Linked DNA regions of Homo sapiens: regions 1 and 3 are each linked to region 2. Evidence: promoter capture Hi-C in 16 types of primary human blood cells and fetal thymus (Javierre and others, 2016). All regions are on one chromosome and are shown on one strand. The core of a region is centred on a gene start or on the middle of the fragment in contact, and the rest is flanking DNA. Distances in the headings are between cores, read along the strand shown.

Region 1 (3,524 bases), core at 324-2,823, 370 kb after region 2:
CCACTGCTGTAAAGAACTACCTGAGACTGCGTAATTTATGAAGGAAACAGTTATAACTGACTCTTAGTTCTGCAGGCTGTAGAGGGTTCTGCTTCTGTGGAAGCCTCGGAAAACTTACAATCACGGCAGAAGGCGAAGAGGAATCAAGCACCTCTTCATGGTGAGGGCAGGAGGAAGAAAGGGAGCAAAAGGAGAAGTGCTACACACTTTCAAACAACCAAATCTCATGAGAATTCATTGACTATCATGAGAACAGCAAGGGAGAAATCCACCTCCATGATCCAGTGTCCTCCCACCAGGCCTTCTTCCAACAATGAAGATTGCAATTCAACATGAGATTCGGGTGGAGGAAACAGAGCCAAACCATATTAATATTAGGCAGAAAAAACACATCTTTGGAAGATCCAACCTTCAATTCAGGCCTCGACATTTTCATAAATGAAGGTCTATGTTTAAAAATAATGTTTTAAATGAATTGAAAATATCATTAAAATGTAATAGACCATATAAATGGAACTATATGTGTGTATATATGTATATACATTTGTGTATATATGTATATACATTTATGTATATATGTAAATATACTTGTGTATACACACTTGTGTATATATACATACACACTTGTGTATATATACAACTTTTAGAGTAAAAACTATAATTATTAATATTAAGAATTCAACATTTATTATTAGAAGCAGATTAGACAAAGTTTGGTTTTCTCTCAGGTCCTAAGAGCCATCTGCATCTTGTGACAGCCTCCGTTTTCAAAGCCAGCAACAGAGTCTCCCTCATGTTTGATCTCTTTTATGCTTCTTACTTATTTTTCAGGAAGAAACCATTTCTTTTTCAGAATTAAGTCAATTTCTCCAAAGTTAATTTCTCTTTCTAAAGTCAATGGTGTCATATAACCTAATCATAAGGGTGATTATCCCATGGGATTACACAGGAGGTGTATAATCTCTGGGGACGAGGATCTGGGAGCTGTCATAGAATTCTGCCTGCCATAGATAATATGAAAGAGGAATTAAGCTACATGGAGAATAAACAATTTTAATATCTAATCACTGGAAAGGTGAAATATTGAGGAGGCAATATTTAAATAGCTACTGGTTGATAATTTTCAAGGAATTAATGAGAAAATTCTAATATTGCGTTATAGGAAATCAAATAACACCCAAGCAGCATAATTATACAGACATACACAACCAACCACAGAAAAAAAACCATAATGTTTGTACCAAATATCAAGGAAAAGGTATCTTAAAATCTTAAGCCACCAAAGAAAAAATTTACTACCTAAAAGGAAATGAATGACAATTGTTGACTACTTAAAAACGACGGAAGGTAGAAGGAGTATGAAAATACCCCCAAGTAATGAGATAAAATATCCATTCTCTAGCATTAAATACACTGTAAAATTTACTTCTCAGAACAAGAAAAAACAATTTTAATTTCAGAAGAAAAATTTCAATTAAACTCTAAACAACAGAGAGGATTGCCACCAACAGACCCTGAATAACGGAAATACCAAAGCTATAATTAAGGGGGGGGGGGAAATGGATCCCATTAGGAGATATGAGGTACAAGGAACAATGCTAAACAATGAGCATGGAAATTGGTATACATAGGGATACATACTAATACACATTTTATGTATAAAACAGTTAAAATTCTATAATATAATGCAATAAATAACTAAAAATAGGATGTGATTTAGAATAGAATGAACACAGCTTAAAGTGTTTTAATGTTCTCATAGTGATGTGATTAAGGATGAAATTGTTGGTTATTTTTGAATATTGATGAACAGAGTATGTATGTTAAATTTTTTAGAATAACCAAGAAGAGGATAGAAATATAACAGGTACTACAAATACTAGAAAAGGAAACTGTACCACGAGAAAGCAACGTTTAGTCATAAAAAAGTAAAGAACAATTTAAAAAGGAATAAAAAGGGGGATGAATATTTTATAAATAAATATTTATAAATATAGTACTTTATGAATAAATCCAAATAAATATACAATGACATCAATTAACTGACTCCTATAGCAAATATTATAGGCTATAGTTAAATAGAACCAAAAAATAATACTATATGTTGCTTATAAGAAACATATCTAAAAGGTAAACTAAGTTTGACCATAATAATTAATCTGATTAACAGTGAGTTGGGATAAAATCTCTGTAATCTGTTTTATGCAGCATTTAACTAAAGCATCCACTAACATGACTCTAAGCAGCAGTATGAGACCAAACTTCAGTGTTGACCTCAATCATGTTCCCCAGAGACAATGTCTGACCCAATCAGCTGAACAAAGGCCATAAATGCTCAATGTCTATCTTAGAAAGCTAGATGGCTTTCTGCTTAATTTTCTGTACTGACCTTTCTACTTGGCCTAAGACGTTAATCCAGATATAGCAGGATGTGTTAATGATTGAACAAATACTACCTTGGTCCACAAAGAAGTCTAGCTAGTTCTGTCACCAAAAACAGCCTTGTCCAATGAGTTGAGACTGATTTGAATGTCTTTCATGTTGGAGTTGATACCATTAATCACATCAGCTAAAATCAGGGACAAATTTTATACCACATCTTCTAACTGGACAATGTCCATGATAGGGATCATCCCCACAGAGCATGTAGCAATACCAAGTCAACTATACCAATGGCAAGTTCCCACTGGTCACCAGAGGTAGCTTCAGTCACTTGAGTACTACATATCTATGGACAGTATTGCCTTGAAGACTTTTGGTCTTTAATGTCTGTTATGACCATCCTTAATATGCAAATCATTGTGTTTTCAGTAGGGAGGCAAATTAATGCCTGACTTTAACAGTCCTACCTTCAGCATACCTGACATACAATGGTGAAACAGCGCAGGGAAATGCAACAAATACTCCTACTGGCAATTGAAAGAATCAGAGCAAAACAGCAGATAGTGGTCCTTCAAACTTCTGAGATCTTCTTGGGCAGATACTTAAATAGCTTGCCATCCTGGGAATGGGATATGTCTCATGTTCAGCTCTGATTCTGCTCCTTGGGAGTAGCCATTTTTATCCTCATTCTCTTTTGGTGATTCTTTCTTTTCCATTATCATCTTTAGCTACCTGTGAAGTGATTATGCAGTTTCACATGCTCTTTGGAGACTGACGAGCTTTTTCAACTTGCTTCCTACTCTTAGAAGGTTGACAGCCCAAAGATTGGTTATTTTGATTCTTATATATTTTTAGTCACAGATTCTGATAGCTCAGCTGGTGGTTTTATTGGCATTACAGCTGTCTACAATTTTTAGTAGATGTATCTAATTCTTCTTAGCTCCATGTGCCATAACTGTAGCCATTATTCTTTTTATAATATAATTCTTTAATCTTCTGTATTTTGTCTCCTTCCTCAGATTCTCCATCGAAAGATGGAGATTGTATCCATCAGGCTTTGTATCTATCAGGATTGTATCTATCAGGCTTCAGAAACAATACAGTTAAGTTTTAGGAACCACTTCACCCCAAACCCCATCCCA
Region 2 (3,201 bases), core at 175-2,674:
TGAATCCCAAGGAAGACCAGATAATGTGTTACCATAAACCTACAGGAGCTCTAGTGGCTACATCATGTAAAATAAACTCAGGACCATTAAAGAAACACAATCATTTTGCTTCTACCATAATTACACAATAAAGTGACCCAAGAGTCCAGTAAAGAAATTTATTTTTACAGGTTACAACAATGCTGATCTTCATTATTTGGCTTTTCAAATTAAAATTTCATAGTCAAAATTATTAAATTCTTTGTAAGAACCACTAACAACTGAAAAAGACAGCTTCATTAATACAGAATAAAAAGAATTAAATGGAATATGCAATTTTAAACAAAAATTGTAAGTAGATTTCCTAGGTGGTGCATATGTTATGAGAGTTAGAAATGAAATTGTACGCTTCTTTTACCACACAGATGGAGGAAACTCTAGAGATGTTTGTGTTGGTAATTTTCAAAAGAAACAGTTTCTTCCTGCTTCCACAACCTCTTCACCCTGTCATCCCTAAATTAACTTAGAAAGAAACTGATTTTATGGGTGACTTTCCCTCAGTAATTTACCCCTTGGTTCTGTTGACTTCATAGTTAAAGCCAAAAGAAAAAAACTATTAATATGCCTAACCTTTGTTATGTTTACTGAGCAAGTTGATATTATTTACACATTTTTTTTACATATTGGTATCTTACCTTATATGTTTCTCCCAAAAGTACATATACAACCAATTGCAAAGAATACTGGTGATACAATGGCAGGTGAAACGAAGATAGTCTACAGGGCAATTTGATTTACATCCCACCTAGTGATGAGGAGTGAAAGACTGAAAGCCAAGTGTCTTAAATACACCCCCGCCTCCCCAACAGTATCTTACAACTTCTTCCCTTTAACTCAGACACAGACGTTCCTCTTGGTGTTTTCACTTCTGCTGATCGCAAACTAACAACACATTAAGAAAAGAATTCTCTTATCTCCTCTGGAGCAATTTTGCCTTTGAAGGCACTGTAATACTCAACTTGAAACTCTCCGCAGGTGTCACCGCCTAAAGAAACAACTCGAGCAGGGCTCTCAGCAAGGGGAAAGCTTCCCTGACAAACCGCGTGTGTTCTTAAGAAAATGTCCAGGCTTGAGCATACCAATGTATGAAAAATCAATATACAGGCCAAAAAAGTTATACTTTGCTAAATCTGTAATGCGGAAAATGACCAATTTAGCTTACCGAGGTTGAAAGAAATCAGCACGGAAAAGTCATCAGTTTGCTACCGGGGTTGGATGCGCTTGTGTCTCCAGTCCTTTTCCCAGACGACCTTATTTTCTAGCACGTCGCAAAGGTGAAATTCTTTCTTCCCGGTCCTCTGAGTTTCTTTGTAAAGGAATCTCAGCGCTGCAGTGCCGCGGCACCCGGAGCTCTTCTCCGCGTCGCTCAATCAAGCACCTCGGAGTGAATGGAAAGTGGCCGGAGGCCGGGGGCGAGCGCTCTTGGTGTCCGATTACAGCGCCGCGGCGCGCGGCTCCGGCTGCCCCGGCGCGCCGCCCTGCAGGCTCGCATCACCACCGCGCAGCCCCGGCCGCATCTCCGCCAGCCGCGAGGCCCCACCCCGAGCGCGCCCGCGAGAGCCTGGCAGGGAGCCGCGGGGGCGGACCGGGCGGGGCCGACCCTTAGAGCTCGCGGCTGGCCAGACGCAAGAATGCGCGGCCGCAGGCTGGAGCCCTAGCTCCGCAACCCTGCTCCTTTCGCAGTCCGCGGCGGAGTGAGCAACTTGCTGGGTGCGCTCCACGGTTTTTGTTGCCGGCGGCTCTCGAAGACTTACACAGGCTTTGCCTGGCCGTAAATATCAAAGTGCAAAGCAGTTGTGGTTTTTTATTTTTGCCAGGGAAGGATCACTGCAGCCTTTTAAGGCAAAGAGATGCGTTTTTAAAAGGACGTGAGTTTTGTCCTTATTCTGCTGCGTTTTTTTTTTGTTTTTTGTTTTTTGTTTTTTGTTTTGTTTTTGGAGAGGGAATCTCACTCTGTCGCCAGGCTGGAGTGCAGTGCAGTGGTGTGATCATGGCTCACTGCAACCTCCGCCTCCCGGGTTCAAGCGATTCTCCTGCCTCAGCCTCCTGAATAGCTGGGACTACAGGCTCCCACCACCACGCCCAGCTAATTTTTGTATTTTTAGTAGAGACAGGGCCAGGATGGTCTGGATCTCTTGACCTAATGGTCCGCCCGCCTCAGCCGCCCAAAGTGCCGAGAGCCACCGCGCCGGGCCTCTGTTGCGTGTTTTCTAAAACAGGTCAAGATAAACGACAATCTTGTTGCACAAGTGTATCCTTTTAATGGGTATTGTTTCCTATTGAGTTTCCTTAATGCCCTGAAAGCAGTAATTCTGTTGACCCCTCCACGTTGACTCATATCCAGTACGTTGTCCCCAACCATACTCCCAAACATAATTACACGAAGAAATTATTTGACAATTCTATGTGGAGAGGCTGTTCTGAGTTATGCCAACAGATTGCCATAACCACACATCTACAGAAATACATCAGAGGTATTTTTCCAGCATTACTTTCAGGTACACTCGTTAAACTCTGGAACTGACTTTGATGTTTAAGTGAAAATTACTTCTCCGGACCACAATAAACTAGATGTTTAAACATCGGGAGAAATGAGCTTTGATCCCCATAAAACAAGCAGGCACTTGCTTAAAATCACTGTGGGGCACAGCCCAGCAGATGTCACTCTACAGAAGGAACGTGGAGTGTAATATCTCCACCTTATACCTGACAATTCACATAATGAAACAATCATTAAATTCTTATAAACTGTATCATAGAAAACCCCTCTGGGGGTGCAAAATCATTGTTCAGTGGGAAAGTTGAATGAAATCTCAGGTAGGAGGAAGAGGTGAGTGAGACACATCTTTCATGTGTCTGGGGCCCACCTCTTGTGTTCAGTAAACATACACGTGTCTCAGACTCACGCTGCATAGTCAAGGAACGAAGGATCAAGTCAAATAATGCAAATTTATGAGTTCAAAAATACTATTCCAGGGCTAATATTATCTCCAAACGTCAAAAAATTAATATAGTAACAACAGTTAAAATTATTTTTTGTGATGATGCGTGAGAAGATCCTTGACATAAATTTGTAATAAGGAATTTAACCCCCCAAAAACTGACAATATTAAAATCCAGATGTCAATGTGAATAAGCACTGTGCGTGCTTCTCTGAAATAC
Region 3 (3,379 bases), core at 761-3,260, 340 kb after region 2:
TTTAGAGCAGTTTTAGGTTCACATCAATATAGAGAAAAAGATACAGAGATTTCCCTATACCCTTGTCCCCATATACACATAACATCCTTCACTATTAAACTCCCACACATGAGTGGTACATGTTACAATCAGTGAACCTACTTTGACATATCACCACTCAACTTCCATAGTTTACATTACTACTTTCTTGGTACTGTACATTCTATAGGTTTGGACAAATTTATAATGACAGGTATCCAGCATTATAATATCATATAGGATAGTTTCAGTGCTCTAAAAATCTTCTGTGTCTTGCCTATATCCTACTGCCTAATATCTGGTAGGCATTGATCCTTTCACTGTCTTTATGGTTTTGCCTTTTCCAGAATCCAGTATGCAGAGTTTTCAGATCGGCTTTTTTATTTTTACTTAGTAATATGTGTTTAGGTTTCTTCATGTCTCTTGGCTTAATAGCTTATTTCTTTTTAGTGCTGAATAGTATTTCATTATCTGGATGTACCTTATTCATTTATTCATTCATCTACTGAAGGAAATCTTGATTGCTTCCAAGTTTTGGCAATTATGAATAAGCTACTATAAAACTCATGTGCAGGTTTTTGTGTGGACGTAAGTTTTCACCTCATTTTTATAAATATCAAAAAGTACAATTGCTGGATCATATGGTAAGAGTGCATTCAGTTTTGCAAGAAACTACGAAACTTTCTTCCAAAGTAGCTGTACTATTTTGCATTTCTACCATCAGTCAATGAGAATCCCTTTTATTCCACATTCTCACTAGCATTTGATGTTGTTAGTGTTTTTGATTTTGGCTATACTAATAGGTGTGTTGGGTTATCCTGATTTAATTTGCAGTTCCCTAAGGATATCTCATGTTGAGCATCTTTTCATATGCTTATATGCCATCTGTATATCTACTTTGGTGACACACCTATTCAAGTCTTTCATCCATTTTTATTTGTTATCTTATTTTTGAGTTTTGAAAGTTCTTTATATTTTTGATAACACTCCTTTATCAGATAAGTCTTTTGCAATATTTTCTTCCATTTTGTGGTTCATCTTCTCATTCTTTGGGCAACATTTTTGTACAGCAGAAATCTTGAATTTTAAGAGAGTCTCACTAATTAATTTTTTCTTTAATGGATTGTACCTTTGGTGTCAAATCTGAAAGGTCATTGCCATACTCAAAGTCATCAAGGTTTTCTTCACTGTTATCTTCTAGGTGTGATAGGTTTGCCTTTTTCATTTAGGGCTATGATTCATTTTGAGTAAATTTTTTAAGCCTGTAAAATCTTTGTCTAGATTAATTTTTTCACATGTAGATGTTTGATTGTTCCAGCAATATTTCTGAAAAGACTACATTTTCTCCATTATATTGCTTTTGCTACTTTGTCAAAGGTCAGTTGACTACATTATGTTTGTCTTTTTCTGGGCTCTCTATTTTGTTCCATTGATCGATTTGTCTGTTATTTTGCCAATTTCACACTGTCTTGATATTGTAGTTTTTATAGTAAGCCTTAAAGACAGGTGGAAGCAGTCCCCCAATTTTACTCTTCTTCTTCAATATTGTGTTGTCTATTGTGGTTTCTTTTGCATTCCTATATGAATTGAAAATCATTTTGTTGTTATCCATAGAATACCTTGCTTGGATTTTGACTGGGATTATGTTGTATCTATAAATCAAGTCAGGAAAAACAGATATCTTGGCTATATTGAGTCTTCCTATCTATAAAAATGAAATCTCTCTTCATTTATTTAGTTCTCTTTGATTTCAGTCATCAGAGTTTTTGTACTTTTCTTCATGTAGATCTTCTGTATATTTGTTAGACTTATACATATATGTTTTATTTTGGGGGGTTCTAATATAAGAGGTGGTATCATAACACTTAAAATTTAACAAATTATTGGTATATAGAAAAGTGTTTGATATTTATATTTAATTTAGTATCCTGCAAATTAGGTTATTTGCAATTTTTTATTGATTCTTTGGAATTGTACATGTTGATGAACATGTGATCTGTGAACAAAAACAGTTTTTTTCTTCCATCTTAATCAGTATACCTTTCATTTTATTTTCTTGTATTATTGAATTAGCTATGCCTTCCTGTACAATGTTGGAAAGGAGGGGTGAGAGGGTACATCTTCATCTTATTCCTAATGTTATCAGTAAAGCTCCTAGTTTCTCATCATTAAGTACAATGTTAGTTGTCAGGATTTTTTTTCCTAGATTTTTTAAATTATGTTGAGAAAATAACCTGCTGTATTCCTACTTTGCTGAGAAATATCACGAGTGGGTGTTGGATTTGGTCAGTTGCTTTTTTGCATCTATTCATATAATCTTGTGAGTTTTTTCTACCCTGTAGATGTGCTAAATTTTATTAACTAATTATTAAATGTTGAACCAGCCTTGCATACCTGGGTCAAGATGTATAATTTTTTATACAGTCTTGGACTTTTTATACAGTCTTGGTATCTGATATTTTGTTGAGGATTTTTGCATCTCTGTTCATGAAAATAATGGTGTATTGTTTTCTTGTAATGTCTTTGGTTTTGGTATTAAAGTAATATAGTCCTCACTGAATGAGTTAAAAAGTATTCTCTCTTCCAGTATCTTCTGAAAAAGATTATAAGAGTTGGTATAATTTCTTCCTTAAACATCTTGTAGAAGTCACCACTGCTTCCATCTGGGTCTAGTGTTTTTGTTTTCGGAAGGTAATTAATTATTTCTTCAATTTCTTTAATAAATACATGTTATTCAAACTGTCTATCTCCCATTGTATGAGTTTTGGCAGATTGTGTCCTTCAAATAATTGGTCAATACTATCTAGAGTATCAAATTTGTGGACACAGTGTTGTTCATAGTATTTTTGTATTATATTTTAATGTCCATGGGATCTGTAGTGATGTCTGCTCTTTCATTTCTGATAATAATTTGTGCTATTGCAGTTATTTTAAATCTGCTGTGCTATAATTCCAAAATTTGTGTCATATATGTTTCTTATATTTGCTTTGTCTCTTGAAATTATAGGTTTTTGTTCTTGTCTTCTAGTGTGCCTGGCAATTTCCTTTTATATATTTTTTTCAATGTTGTATTGAGCAAAAGGAAGTGAGGTAAATAGGTCTTAATGTGAAGTTCTCTGTTAACCGTGTTTTCAGGTTTGAGCCCAAGCCGAGGTCTGAGGGGAGTCAGTGGGTTGGTGGTGGGTAGCTGGATAAACACTGGAGGAATCATAGGTAGTTGCAACATGGCTTTATTCTCTCTCTGGTCACAAGCTGTATGTACAGCATTAGCAGGGTAATTATACCTTTTACAGACAATAGTGGCTCTGAGCCAACCATGAGCTCCCATGAGTGGTTACCTAATGTGCCTCATGTGGCATGG

The links. Contacts are between HindIII fragments. The CHiCAGO score rates a contact against its expected background, and 5 or more counts as called.
Region 1: a contact is called between a fragment that was not itself captured here and the fragment with the promoter of SEMA3C in region 2, in 1 of 17 cell types (neutrophils). The highest score is 6.2, in neutrophils.
Region 3: a fragment that was not itself captured here is called in contact with the fragment with the promoter of SEMA3C in region 2 in 1 of 17 cell types (M2 macrophages); the score reaches 6.8 in M2 macrophages.

Annotation. Positions count from the first base shown.
Region 1 is chr7:81,289,973-81,293,496 of GRCh38, forward strand. No RefSeq gene overlaps it. Among named protein-coding and RNA genes, the nearest start is that of SEMA3C, 370 kb to the left of the region's middle. The HindIII fragment of the contact is 4,540 bases long and covers 1-3,524 here.
Region 2 is chr7:80,917,627-80,920,827 of GRCh38, forward strand. SEMA3C (semaphorin 3C) reads right to left here and starts at 1,425. Exons shown (of 18, transcript NM_006379.5): 1 at 1,202-1,425. RefSeq lists an enhancer at 945-1,014 and a silencer at 1,562-1,691. The HindIII fragment of the contact is 5,149 bases long and covers 1,064-3,201 here.
Region 3 is chr7:81,260,924-81,264,302 of GRCh38, forward strand. No RefSeq gene overlaps it. Among named protein-coding and RNA genes, the nearest start is that of SEMA3C, 340 kb to the left of the region's middle. The HindIII fragment of the contact is 4,916 bases long and covers 1-3,379 here.